Regions from separate parts of the Homo sapiens genome. Here region 2 is linked to region 1. Evidence: promoter capture Hi-C in 16 types of primary human blood cells and fetal thymus (Javierre and others, 2016). All regions are on one chromosome and are shown on one strand. Each heading gives the region's core, a stretch centred on a gene start or on the middle of the fragment in contact. The rest is flanking DNA. Distances are from core to core; before and after follow the strand shown. Region 1 holds the start of BRINP3 (BMP/retinoic acid inducible neural specific 3). Region 2 overlaps RGS21 (regulator of G protein signaling 21).

Region 1 (7,166 bases), core at 2,501-5,000:
TCATCATCATGAGTGATAAGATTAAATGTTCCTTAATGTCCATTCAAGTTCCAACACACTTTTTATGAGACTTGAACACATTAGCCCCAGTTTATTTAGCAGCATTATTGATCTTACAAAATAAAATGTGAAGATTCCTGCATACACAGGTATTTTTAAAACTTTAGACTCTTTCAAAGAGAAAACTCTAAAAGCAAACATAGCAGAGATGAAAATGAATAAATATAAACATTTTATTGAAATTAATTATATGTGCATAAATGTGTGGGTCATGTTTGACTTTCTTTGCTATGCAAATAATAGTCTCAATTTATTTATCTTTATATAATCCGTTTTTGTTACAAGTTAGATTTAATGTTAAAATCACCTGAATCATATCAACATTTTGCTTCCCAGGCAAATTGCTTTCCAATTTCTGTAATAAAATGTAACTTGAATATTGCTTTTAGATTAGAAATTTTAGTGGGTTAATAGGTAAGAAAAAGAAAAAAAAAAAAAAGAAATATATTAGTTGGTTCTCATACATAGCTCTTATAAGAAGGCAGCACCAGGATGGCTAACAAAAGCATTACCAATAATATAAAATATACTAAAGTATTAGCTGCAAATATGCACCGTGATTATCTAAGAAAGACATTTTCAACATAAAATTAAAATGCATAACTTTTGGAGCAATCTAAGTATAAACCAGATTTGTTCTGAAGGTAAAAGGCAGCTAGGAGATATAAAGCCTATGGCTTCATGAAGGAGTTGATCAAATGTAACCATATGAATTAGTATAGTGCTCAAATACTTAAATTGTTAAATAAACTTTAAATGCTGTAAACACTTTTAAAGTTCATGAACTATGGGTCACAAAATTAATATTCTTGTTATCCTTTTTTTTTCAAATTTTTAAGAACAGCAATCACACATTTATTTCACATATAAAATAAAAATCTGAATGTTACATTTTTCCAATTTAAGTCCGGGTGGGTCCTCAATAAACAAATGCATTTCTCTGAATAGCAAATTATGTAAGTAGCTTTAGGCAGCATACCAAAGTCTTATGTGAAAAGTATGCTCTCTAACTCTCACAATTGTTAAGGTTTATTTGCAATGAAAGTAATTCAGAATTTTCATCCTCTTTATGTGAACCTCAGATCCTCTTAGCAGCATTTGCCAGCCTCTCTAAAACACAGAGACATACACAGACATCATCCTCTTGTTAAAATGAGACATCAGAAGAAACACTTCTGCTCTAGGACATCATTAGAGCTGGACAACAGCCTGAGGAGAGAAAGAAAAAAGTGTTATACCAACATGCCCTTAGTGAATTTTTTTTCTCTTGCAAATGTTGATGGCTATAAAGACTATATAGATAGTTGAGAACAAACATATTTTGTCTTGCAATATGCCACTTGACTACCTCTCTTCTGAAATTTTATACTACTGATTTCTAGAATACTGATTTTCTAAAATGAAGTTTATCTTACCAATAACATTTTAGTATTATACATTTCAGATGATTTTTCAGTCATCCTGTTTTCATCAGGAATGCATTTTGTGCCAATTAGCTTATTCTTTGTCATTAAATTTAGAGGATAATAAATTGCAGTAGGATAATAACAATAGACAAGAAAGTTTAATTTAAATGTTTTACCAGTAAAATATATTTTATAATTAAAAATGCAATGATTTTTCTGAGAGCAAATCTCCCTTAATTTTGTGCATCAAAAATGGTCAGCTTACTCTTGAAAACCAAGTTCACACAATTTGCAAAACATGTTATTCTCTACACTTAATGACATATGATGTAAGCACAATCAAGAGCCGTTTGGCTTCTTCCCTACTGCTACACCAATCCACTCTTCACATTGTGAGCGTGCACAGGCTGGGGGTGCTAGAGACTCATGGAAAACCAGAGGGCTTTATGAATTTGTAGTACCACCACAATATGCCATTGTGGATACTACTAATTTGTATCTGGTGCAATAATTGGAACCGAGATGCACATTTAATAAGTGGTTTCTATAGCTTTAATATACCTGCGAAATGTGAAAAATAACCATTCTTAATTTTGGAACTGAAATTGTATTTCAGAACATGGCCAAGACATACTAAAAGCATAGACATGAGCCCACTACCTAAAACTCTTTTCTTTATTTTCAGAAAGGAAAGACAGTTAGTAGGAAATAAGGGAAATACTTAAATACCACTTTTGGAAACAAACAGGGATTTAACTGCTTTATCTGTCTTTGAGTTTTTAATGCAGGATATAAAGGACCTTAAAGCGTTCATATTGTCTCCTTAAAACCCTCTACTTCAATTTCACCCTTACAAGCTACTACTCTCCTAGGGAAGAGGAAAAAAAAATTTCCACTGACCCAGCTCGTGATTTACATACAGAGAGCAAATAAATGAATGGAGTGGGGGATGGGGCAGTGAGAAGCAATCTGTTTCTTTTTCAACCGCAGAAAATAAGATTACTTACCAAGAACATTTTTATCCAGGGCAAATGTTTATTCCCTCTATCATTCAGCGCCTCAGTCTCTGCAAGAAATCAATTTCCACTCTACCTTTCCCTCCTATTTCTAAAAAAGAGAGTGAGGCGGATAATTCTTAAGCTTCGGGGTCCGGAGGAAGATAGAGCTAGAGCGGAGGGCAAAAGACTCCCACAGCGCTCTTTATACAGATCCCAGCTCTGAGAGCGAACCCATGGGGAGGGGGCGGGGGATCATCTCTAAGGAGAGTACTCCGAGTAGGGAGGGGGATTCATTCTGCAGCCAAAATATAAATCATCTACAAACAGATTACTAGCCTCTCAGTCACACAGGCAGTTCCCTTGGGAAACCGGTTTCAAAGAGGAAGAAGTTCCTGGAGAGAGAGAGAGAGAGAGAGAGAGGGAGGGAGAGAGAGAGAGAGAGAGAGACTGGGGTTTGGACTTGCAGAGGGAATGGGGCCAAGGAGAGGAATAGGGAGAAGGAATAAAGCTAATCTTACCGATCGATCAGGCGATCGTTTGTTCAGTATTGGGACACGAAAATGGCAAGATAATGCATTCGGCAGCAAAGCCATTTCTGGCACACTCTCTCTCAGTTACTGCAGGAATCAGAGGGGAAGCGGGCGCCTCGAAACCTACCACTTGCTCCCCAGGGACCGTCCTCAGAACCTCCAAAGCTCTAGCTTCTAATGCAAGGCGTTCGGAGCTGAGGGTTCAGGTGGAAGTCAATTGTCTTGAGTCACAGGCAGCAGGAACGCCAAAGAAGTGGGACCTGGGAGGGCTGCTGCCGCCGCTGCTGCATCTAACCACGGTTCCCCGTCCCCTTGCCTAAGCCTCACCGGCACAGCGCCCCCGAAAGCGCCTAGCGACTCGGCCTCCTCCGCATCTTCAGCCCTTCGATCACCGCCCGCACCCCCCACCCCCCACCGCCTCGTGCAAATCGCTGATGATTTGGTCATCGTAATGTGACCGGTCGTAGTGGTTTATTTGGGGAGTGGGGGAATTGGTTGTGTTGGGCTTCCTTACTACGCCTCCCTCAGTTGCTGCAAGTGAAAATGTTCAAGGGAAATACTAGTGAAATGCACTGATGGAATACTATTAATCCTAATGATAATGGTCCCAACGCAGGTAACTCTTAAAGAACTGAGAGTGGGAAGATCAGAGCAGGATTTCCGAAGTGGTGCCCTCTTGAATTCTCATTGGATCCTCCCCAGCAGCCTAAATCATTCTTGCTGCTATATCTATCAGGATGACTACAGCCTTGCTCACTAGTTCTCTCTTTATCTCGTTGTCTTCAACACATCCTTTTACTTCTCTTTGCAGATTTATCTGTATTCCACCTCCTGTTCTCTGGGGTTACACAGCTTCTGCCTTTCCCCACTGTATGGGGATGTGCAGCCTGTAAATTTTCACTTTGCTTAAGGATCACCACGAATCACCCCCCACCATTCCCCACCCCCCCATATAAAGCATTTTCACATTCTGCTTTCTTGCCTTGGGGGTTCGTGGCTCTCTGTGTAACTGGTTTTTACTTGGTTACATGCCACCAGGAACTGCTGATTATTTTAAAGTCCTACTACCCTGCAGCTCACTACTTTACCTTGATTTGGAAGATCATGGAATATCTATTTGAATCCTGGATGTATTTTTCTCACAGTCTTCTTGCTTCCTGAAATTTCCTCTGGTAAGTTATTCTCTTTATCTGTTACTAGAAACTTAACTATTGCTATTTTTAATAAGCTCTGTTTTGTTGAAGTATTTCATTTTTCACATTTTTGTTACTTTCAGAACTGAAAGATCCATATGGCCATATTTATTAATTAGTATGTTAGTGGCAACTGCACTGCTAAGACATAACCCATGTAATGTATTACCCCAATATCCCATGTATTACCCCAATATCTTTTACCTTCTTTATTTTTAAAATATTTGTCCTCATTTATATTATGGGTTACACGGACATTAATCGCCCCCACCCCCATTAACCCTTCTTGGCACACATTCCTGTGCCATTTGAAATGTCACATTTTATAGGTTTATCTAAGAGAGAGCTTAAAAGAGACCTTCTGACAATTGCAAGGTCTGGAAAGTTCGCTAGTCGGATATTCAGAAGGTTGTTCAGGTCAGCATTTGTTCATGATAAGCAATTACATGACTGAAGGAAGACTTTGTTGCAAAGTGTATTTTTATGAATTTAGCAAGACCTTAAGCACTAAAATGCCACTGAATGGTAGGAAGAGGACTGTGAGTTTTGAGGGCACCATTTTTTTTTCTTAAAATATTTCAAATCACACATAAGCACGTTATTTTAGGCATTGTATTTTAATTCAGGCATAGTATTTGTCAGTACATTTCTGATTTTGTGAATTAGCTGGTGAACAGTTAATTGGACACAGAGTACTCATTTCAGAGAGGAGCAATCAGAAGAAACCCCTGATTATCTTGGTTCTGATAAATTGAAATTCAAGAATAGACTTTACATGAAAAATTTAATTGCCTCACTCTTCATACTTGTCTGCCCCCAACCCTTGTGTTTAATAGGCATGTTAATATGGTCAGTGCCTTTTGCTTTTATGAACATTTCTATGGACTTAACTGACAAGATTATCACCTCCTCTTCCGTATAGTTGTGTTGAGAAACATTTTAATCTTTACTTTTACTTCACAATTGACACATAATGAGGAAAGCACGATATTCATTAAATGCCAAACCTGCATGTATCGGTAATTTTTAACACCCACTGAGGGTTTTCTCTGAACATCCGCCCCCCGCCCTCAAATTAAGGACAAGTTCCTGGTCTCTACAACATTTCCTTTTCTTGGGATACATGGAGGTAAGAACCTATTGTTCACGCTTTTCTTTTCCTTTTTTTTTTTTTTAATTTCTGGGAAATAACTATTCTTGTCGTCATTGATGGCTGACGCGACAACCCAAGCAATGTTTTTTTAAATTCAAAAGCCCTTTTAGCTCCCAGACATAAAAGTACTCCAGCTGCAGCGTCGCCCCATCCCCCCGTCTCGGGATTCAAGGGCTTTTCCCCCTTGACTCCCACCGAGAGGGAACGGGGGTTGAGACTGTGGTCCGCACCACTTGGCGCCCCTCACCCGTCACTAGGTCACTAGTTTCTACCTGGTCTCTTTCCCAGTCCGGTCGTCCTGCCTGACAAGCCAGTGCCATCAGAGTCCGTGACTTCATTTGAAGAAAGGAGGGCTTCATATAATTCAATTCAAACATTCTCTTTGGAGGACTGCTGTTGTTGCGCAAGGGTGGAGGGAGGAAAAAAAAAAGAAAAAGAAAAAAAAAACTTTCAGTACAGTCAGATCCAGTAAGGAACAGACAGTCAGTATTTAGGTAAGTGCGTTTTGCTGTATTATACCTGAAGCTCAAGCGTGTGAAAGGGAAATTTACATCTGAGGGGCTCCCGCTGCCAAGAACGTTTTAACTGGAGGGTTATCAACAGGCGACTCTGCGTGGAGATTTCTCCGCAGCTCACGGCAACGCCTATGCCACCTGAGCTCAGGGAACGGAGGAGAGCAAGGTGCCTGGTTGACCAGCTGGCCCCAGGCTTGGTGTTGATGTGGGAATAACCCATGCGTGTAGGAAAGGTGTCCCCTACTCTGACCTGCTAGCTCAGGCTCTGCACTCAGCCCCTGCAGCGAACGTGTGCTTGGTGTGGGCATTTGCAGCCCCATAGAGTGGGGTGCGCCAGGGGGTTTCCATCCTTCCAGAATGCTCCATTTCCAACCTTCCTAAGCCAAACTTGAGCAAACCTCTTCTGTATGAGAGAATAGACTTAAGATCTCTGGAGTCTCTTAGTACCTTTTTGCGTTAATATTTATTTATTTTAATGAGCTATATTTAACGTTAGTAAACGACGATTCCTCAGAATGCCTGCTTTATAAAACCCTAATCACTGTCCTTGTCTGACTGCGAAGTAGGGTTTAGAACTGTTGAATGACTTCTTAGGCTCTGTGTTAAAGTATTATTGCTGACGGTCACTCCTTCCTTTCCTTCACCAACTCCCAAGAATCTGGAGGGCGGTGGGGAGAGCGGAAGAGAGTTAGATTTCAACTTGAAGCTAGAGCTTGGAATATAAGGTTGAAGTTAAAAGCAAAGAGTGAGGGTTTGGAATCTGTCTAGCTTATATTATACCCACTTTAAAGTTGGCCTTTTATTTTTATTTTCCTCTTTCTGGAGGTGGGGGTGGGAAGTAGGAAGATCTGGGACTGGGAGCGCTCTCTTCCAGAGTCCACCGGAGAGGGGGTGGTGCTTCTTGGCCGCTGGTTACTGCTGGTTCCACAGCCAAACAGTGACAGAGAGTTTAAGTCTCTGATGGCTGTTCTCCTAGTCCCCAAGAGTTGAACCGGAGAGGCTTTTACTTTGCACCAGGTCGAGAACGTGATCAGCCCTTTAGAGAAGGAACCTCCTTGTAACAGGAATTCTGCTGGGAAACGCCGTGTAGGCACTACCTCCGAAGATAAGATGCATGTTTGGAGCTGTGTAAAATGCCCACTGGCTGTTTGAAAGAAGGAAAAGGTGACTAGGGTTGCAAATTAACCTTAGTATCACTTAAAAATATTCTATCTAGTCAAATGTACGTAAGCAAAGAAGAGAGCACCAGGATATAAAACTGCCACAGCAGCTTGGAAGACAGATGATTCAGATTTTGGGGACTTTCTTTTG
Region 2 (7,166 bases), core at 3,209-5,708, 1.9 Mb before region 1:
CTAATGCCTATGCTTAGTACATGCAAAGTATGTCTGCAAATCAACAAAAACAACTAGGTAATTTGACAAGTCCTTTAGCTGTTTAAAACATTAAAAAGCATTCATACTATTGCCATTTCTCTGGTATTATGAAAAGCAAACCAAACAACTGTTCGGATGTATATGACTTTTCTATTTCATGTGGGCATGAAATATAAAATCCCAGAGGGTATGCAGAGGAATGAGTTTGCCTTCATCTCACCCTTCCTGCCTCTCCTCTATAGTACTGTTGTATGGACTTCCACCACTCTGGATTCTTCTGAGTCACAACACACAGAGAGATAATTCAGTAAGCCTTTTAGCAAACTTGATCTGTCCCATTGCTTATACACTTAAGGAGAAAGGAAATACACCATTTAACACTTAATAAACAGCAATTCCATATTCACATCTCTTTAATATATGCCCTTAGGTGGATTCTGGAAGTTACGTGGATCCTTTGATGTTTATACTTTCTAATTATTTCTAATTATTTCTAAATTAGTCATTTAGAAATAATATGTTTATAGTATCTAAATTCATCTAAGTCATTCTAACTTTATACATAAATAAGCAGCTGTGAATTCAGCTCTATTGTGTTTTATATTTTTCTAATATTCTAATTTTTATTCTTTATGAATTTAAAATAAAATGCCATTTGATTTATACAAATAATATTATAAACATTTTCTCTCTGTGTTTCACAGTGTCATTTTTCCTCTTTCAGATGAGATAGAATTGCAGATTATTTATAACACAAACAGAAGTTATACCTTTGTAAATGATTATTTTATATGTAAGTTGTGTTAACTAAGATATTTTATTAAAGACTAGGATGTTTTATTTATAATTGGCCAAAATTGCCTTACTGAACCATTCTATCAATTATAAATACATATTCACACATATACATATTAATACACACATATACATTTAAATATGTTTTCATATTCACTGAAAGTGAGAATAACACAGTTGATATAAAGTACTTTAAAATATTTTTTATTTTGACCAACAGTACATGTGAAACAAGTGATTTATTTAAATTTTCAAAATTTTCAACAGTTTGTATGTTTCTTTCAACTTGTACCAAAGGCAGTCGTGATCAAATTATAGTGGGCCAGCTGGGCGCAGTGGCTTATGCCTGTAATCCTAGCACTTTGGGAGGTCAAGGCAGGCAGATCATCTGGGGTCAGAAGTTCGAGACCAGCCTGGCTAATGTGGCGAACACCTGTCTCTACTAAAAATACACATATTAGCTTGGTGTCGTGGCATGCTCCCGTAGTCCCAGCTCCTCGGGAGGCTGAGGCAGGAGAATCCCTTGAACCCGGGAGGCAGAGGTTGCAGTGAGCAGAGATCACACCACTACACTCTACACTCCAGTCTGGGTGGTAAAGCAAGACTCCGTCTCAAAAAAAAAAAAAATACATATATATATGTATGTGTATGTGTGTATACACACACACACACACACAGCGAGCCTAGGGCTGGCACAGTGGCTCACACCTGAATTGAATCCCAGCACTTTGGGATGCTGAGGTGGGTGGATCACCTGAGGTCAGGAGTTTGATACCAGCCTGGCCAACATGGTGAAACCCTGTCTCTACTAAAAATACAAAAATTAGCCGGGTATGGTGGTGCATGTCTGTAATCTCAGCTACTCAGGAGGCTGAGTCAGGAAAATTGCTTGAACCCAGAAGGTGGAGTTTGCAGTGAGCTGAGATCATGCCACTGCACTCCAGCCTGATAGAGAGAGAGAGTGAGACTCTGTATTAAAATAAAAAATAATAAAAAATGTTAAAGTGAGTCTAAGGCAATGGAAAATTTCACTTGCTAGATTGAATTTCCCTTTTGTTTTAATGTACAGAGTTAACCTATAAACTTATTTTAGCCCCAACCTGATTCTATTTAGATTTTGGATTTTTATGAATTTATGATTATTAATAATTTTATACTTCATTGATTAAACTCATACTTTATGATATGTTACCAACTTTCAGAATTTAATAATTTATATTTAATTATTGTATTTTAAGCCTATTATTAGTTAAATCTTACCTTGGTTGGCTAAAAGCGTGTCCATATTTTCAGACCATGTCATTGTTTCCGCAGTTGGTGACCTGTAGAAACAGCATCTAACCTTGACAATAGCATTGTGATCTTTTTCTTCTTTAACCAATAGTAATATTCGAGTTACATGTATTTTGAGTTACATCATTCAAATGAACTTCATGCTGTTAATCAAACAGCCAAATGTCAAAAAATTATACAATGCTATTTACAGTAGTTAGCTATAGTGACATAAAGTGGGATGTAATTTGACATCAGCAAATTATTTATTAATCTAGCTGACAGTCTTAAGAATATTTGAGGCTTCTTAAATTCTAATAAAGGCATAAAAGATATCGGTTCTGTGGATCAATGGTGAATTTCTTTTCAACTATGAGTATATTATTTGTTAATTTATGTGACATTACTCTAGCCAAAAAGTTATGATAGCAATGGTGATGAATAAACTATTTTCTAAATTTTTATAGTGTAAAGATTATGTCATAATTATGCATCTCAAAAGAGTTCAAAAAAGTTTTAAGAATTTCTAGCATGTGATGAACTTGAAAACATTTTGTTCGTAATATTTCAAAACGTCTTTACCTACTCTGAGGCAGCCTTTATTTCTCTTTAGACTGGTATACTTCTAGTTCTGAGCTGATTTATTTAAATCTAGGAATCTGTCAAGACAGAGTAATATCTTTTCCAAAGCAGTCAAAAATTTATAGACTTAAGTCTTCTGAAGAAGGTTACTTTTGGGGATGTGATGTAGAAATCATAAATCAGGTTTAAGATATAAACTTTCTGAGATGCAAATATATCATACATTACTCCTCTTAATAAACAAAGATCCTGATGAAATAAGCCCCTATTCATAGAAAGCATCTGCTGCCCAGAAATAAAACCACGTTGGATTATGTAGCTGTGATGTGCAAATGACTTAGTTATGGAAAGAGAGGGTCCAATTTAAAGTTTGTATTGAAATTACCAATAATAAAATAGAGAAAAACTCATATATCGCAATTCTTATAAAACTTTTGTATTTGCACGGCAAGATAACTAATCTTAAACATACTAGTGTGAAGTGATTCCTATGCTTTTGTATTACTTCCTGTAATTTGCTGCAGTTTTTATAGTTTTTGCTAGGATTGATTGTACTTCCTCTACTGATGCAGTTGTAGTTGCATCTTCAGTTAATAATGGTCATCCTCATTAAGGACACATAGAGAGGACACTGTAGCTAAGAATTCATTTTACTATTTTCCATTACTCACATTTCCAATCTAAAATTTCCTTCTCCTGTTGTAGGCAGCTGACTTTCCTTTCTTCCTTGACTTACTAAATCTTGGGGACACAGATTACCTGTGAAACCATTTGGAAATGGTGTTTTTTTTCATTCAAATAGACACAAAAATTGAGTTGTTCAGTTTCTGTCTTTCATAAATGGAGGTTGAGACACAATGCTAGATTTAATTTTACATTGAAGATATTTTGTGTACTCTATAACCTGTTACTCAAATAAGCTTATGTTATATTTCATATAACTCAAATATTAGAACTTGTAGGAATTCTAAAGTTATACGATCATTTAAAATACACATGCTTAAAAATATTCCTGTTTGTATACTAAAATTTGGCTGCTAGCAGGGTATTCAAATTAAAGCTACTTAGACCTGTGGAACATATGCTAATGAATAGGATAGAGAGGAACCTGGCCATGCAGAATGCCCATTTTGAATGAGGAACAGGCAGCCAGGAAAAACTGAAAAATAAAATCTAGACAAATTCATTCAAAGATGAACATTTATATTCCCATTAGTATGTAAGTCATCTGATGACAGGACTAAATGTTATTTTCTAGCACCAAGAACAGTGTGCCTGGTCTATGAAATATTGAACATATTAACAAATAAATAATGGATGACCAAACCCCAAATATTGACACATATTAAAGCCTTCAATGGAAGAGGGTAAATGGCCTTCAAGATGCTGATAAATTACAGTGATAAAAAGTATTGAAAAGTGTAGCTAAATTGTATTAGCTTCAAAGGCATAGAGTGTTCTGGGAAAGAGAAGATGAAAAATAATGTGAAAACGTCACTGAATCATCATGGACCTCATTCTCAACTCTGAGGTATGTGAGGTTGGAGAGAATAGCTGACATCCATTCTAGAAGGCAGTGTCCTTTAAGGACAGACAGGTTTTACTTAATCCAAAAGCAAAAAGGCATATTTCTTGAAATCTTTTTGGATATAAAGGAGTATTTATAGAATGAAGGTGTTTACATAAATAATAGCTATTTGTATCATCTTCATTAATGTAGAGAAACAGTAAGAGAAAGAAAGCAAAGTGTGGGAGATGGTGTAGAACCAAGGATAAAAGAAAAATTCCTAATGTTTTGAATTACAGAGGGATGCTAAAATGTTACAGATATTTTATAGATAAAGACATGGAATACTATGGATAATAGAATTAGTTATATGGGTATATCCTAGTATTAATCAAGGTCCACAAAATGCTGACATTGTTTTTAGGAGAAAAAAATTGCCCATCGGCTCTGAAGGAGTACCTCTGCTGGTGTGTAGCAATGCCTGGAATACCCTCAGCTCATTCCTTTATAGCCTATTTCTTATCCAGAAGGTTAAATTTTGACTATCTGAGATGTTGAAAGAGTTGGAGGTAACATAGCATTTACTTTTCAGAAATTAGGTGAAGTGTAACTATTTTAAGGAGTAATGCTTGTTTGTTGCCAGTTAAATTTGTAAATTTTGGAGTTTCTTGTAATTCTGTGAAAGAGCAAATTGATGGTATCTATGAATAAACTGAAATACAATATTTATAATAGCACTAAAATGCACAACTATGTATTGGATGTTTACAATGCATACCACATTGTGCTACGCATATCATAGACTTCATTTAATCTTGAAAATAACAGTCTGTTTTATTCCAATATTACCAAAGAGTAAAGAGGGTCAGAGATACAAATAAGTAGTGCAATATTCCACAGACAGTAATGGCCAGAGTTAGAATTGAAACACAAGTTTGTCTGCTTTAACCCAAGTTATTTCATACTTCTTAAATGGATGAGTTAATACATATATATTTGTACTTTATTCATGTTTTGGAACATTTATAATAACTACCTAAAAAGTGTTTTTTTCCTGCAATAGAGATTTATCATATTTCATAGAAATACTATAATTCCTCTAAATAATAGTTAAAATTGTGGTAACTGGCTGCTCAACTGAAAGCTTACACGAAACAGAATTTAAGAATTCATGAACAATATTATTCATGAATTCTTAAAGCTTGTACACTATCAAATAAAAATAGGGCATTTCTTATGGTAGATGGGAGTAAGAAATATCATCTTCTGTTTTTAAAAAATGTAACTATATAAATGTTAAGAAAGAAATCTATTGAATAAAAGTTGGAGAAAAAAGAGGATGGTTGATTTTAAACTCTACTGACTTGGTTGACTTTTACTTGATATGTGCTATCTGAAAAAATGGACAATGGCCACTCCCTCATTTCTTTTTTTCTTCCTTTTATTGAATTTTAACAGCAGTTTTGTCTGGCTCTTTTCATTTCTGTGTTTATTTCCTGTAAAATTGTGATGCATAATCAGAGTAAGTTTTTGTTTGTGTATGATTTGCCATGAAAAGTCACTGTGTATCTGAAGCCAAAATTACACTTAGTATTTCATGCGGTTTTGGCTGATTTCCTTTCTATTTTCTTCATTAAGCAAGTGCCATCAAGGCCAGCAGTACCCATATTATATGTCCAGAGAAGAGCCAGGCCAGATGGGAACTGCGTGAAAGCAACCAGTTATCTTGCTAATTATGCCAGCTAGAACCAGTTGTATTGCATTAAAAAATGTGGAATCCAACAACTTAGCTGTTCACACTCAATTAGCAGTGTGCTGGAGAATGGAAAACTCAAGCAAGGAGTCCATGTGCTCCAGGAAGTGACAGCTGCTTCCTTACCCAGCATTTAATATCCATGTAAAATTTTTTCAATAAACGTTGTGATAATTTTTGCAAGAATCATGTATATGTTATGTCTCTAATTCATCTCATAATTTAAAAAAAACATAAAGTTCAGTGGTCTATCTCCACTTTATAACCTTTCTTTAGCCCACATGAAGAATAAAGTGCAAAAGTAAGCCACAAATTCTTGACATGTTTTCAAAAAGAAGAAATCAGTAGAGAAAGGAGAAAAAATCAGGAAGACAACAATTAGCGTATTTATCATAAATGAAGGAAATAAAACATCGAGACTAAAAGAAGACTCAAGTGTTTCATTTGTACATCTTCTGAGATAAAAATAGCTGGAAACGGCAACTCACTTCACTGGCATTTTTCGTTCCACTGTCTGTCACAGATGATGCCGAGTTTCTCTTTCTGACTGATCTTCAAGCTGAAGGTAATGTGACAGCAGGAACATTACAATTAGTATGCGAATACCTATCCCCTGGGTTACAAATTGGCATTCTTTAAATTCTGCTATTCTCAGCTTTTTTATTTTTGTTATTAACTTTTCATTGGTCAAAACACTTAAACTTCTAAGTAATAAATAACTCTTTGAATAAATGTGACATTTCTCTGAGTCTGTGGCATAATTGAAATAAATTCCATCTGAAAGTTTTTTCTGAAGTTCATATTCATCTGTTTGCAAGACAACTATTGTTCACAGGAGGTTAAACCAATATATAATGATATACATATTATAAATATACATATTTATAATTAATATTCACCTTTAAGTCTTTAATCTGCCTAAGAGATCATTTTGTTTTCCTTTGTTCTTTGATTTTCAGAGAATCTGAGGAGGGCTCTACCTTTAGTATACTTATCTTAAACAACTATATATGTTTAACTATTTAAGCAATTTTATTCATGAACTAAAATGTTCTAATATAAGACATTGCAGTTTTCTTTGAAATTTATGCAGTTTTTATTGCTTAATAACATACATTTCTCTCTTTTAACCATGGATCTCAAGTCATTTTATGCCAATATTTCTTTATGCAATATGATGTTTAATGTAATAAGGCTAATATATTTATCAAAACAAAGACCATATATTGGCAATTT

What was found. The method cuts DNA at HindIII sites, captures the fragments that hold promoters and counts their contacts. A CHiCAGO score of 5 or more calls a contact.
Region 2: a fragment that was not itself captured here is called in contact with the fragment with the promoter of BRINP3 in region 1 in 1 of 17 cell types (M1 macrophages); the score reaches 5.8 in M1 macrophages.

What each region holds. Positions count from the first base shown.
Region 1 is chr1:190,474,448-190,481,613 of GRCh38, reverse strand. BRINP3 (BMP/retinoic acid inducible neural specific 3) reads left to right here and starts at 3,750. Exons shown (of 8, transcript NM_199051.3): 1 at 3,750-4,166. It overlaps BRINP3-DT (BRINP3 divergent transcript), which reads right to left and starts at 3,354. Exons shown (of 3, transcript NR_110716.1): 1 at 3,122-3,354; 2 at 2,474-2,532; 3 at 220-1,269. The HindIII fragment of the contact is 5,146 bases long and covers 2,609-7,166 here.
Region 2 is chr1:192,342,300-192,349,465 of GRCh38, reverse strand. RGS21 (regulator of G protein signaling 21) reads right to left here. Exons shown (of 5, transcript NM_001039152.3): 2 at 6,419-6,489; 3 at 2,077-2,153. The coding sequence starts at 6,429. It overlaps LOC124904473 (a long non-coding RNA gene), which reads left to right. Exons shown (of 2, transcript XR_007066775.1): 2 at 5,816-6,107. Among named protein-coding and RNA genes, the nearest start is that of RGS21, 29 kb to the right of the region's middle. The HindIII fragment of the contact is 1,731 bases long and covers 3,593-5,323 here.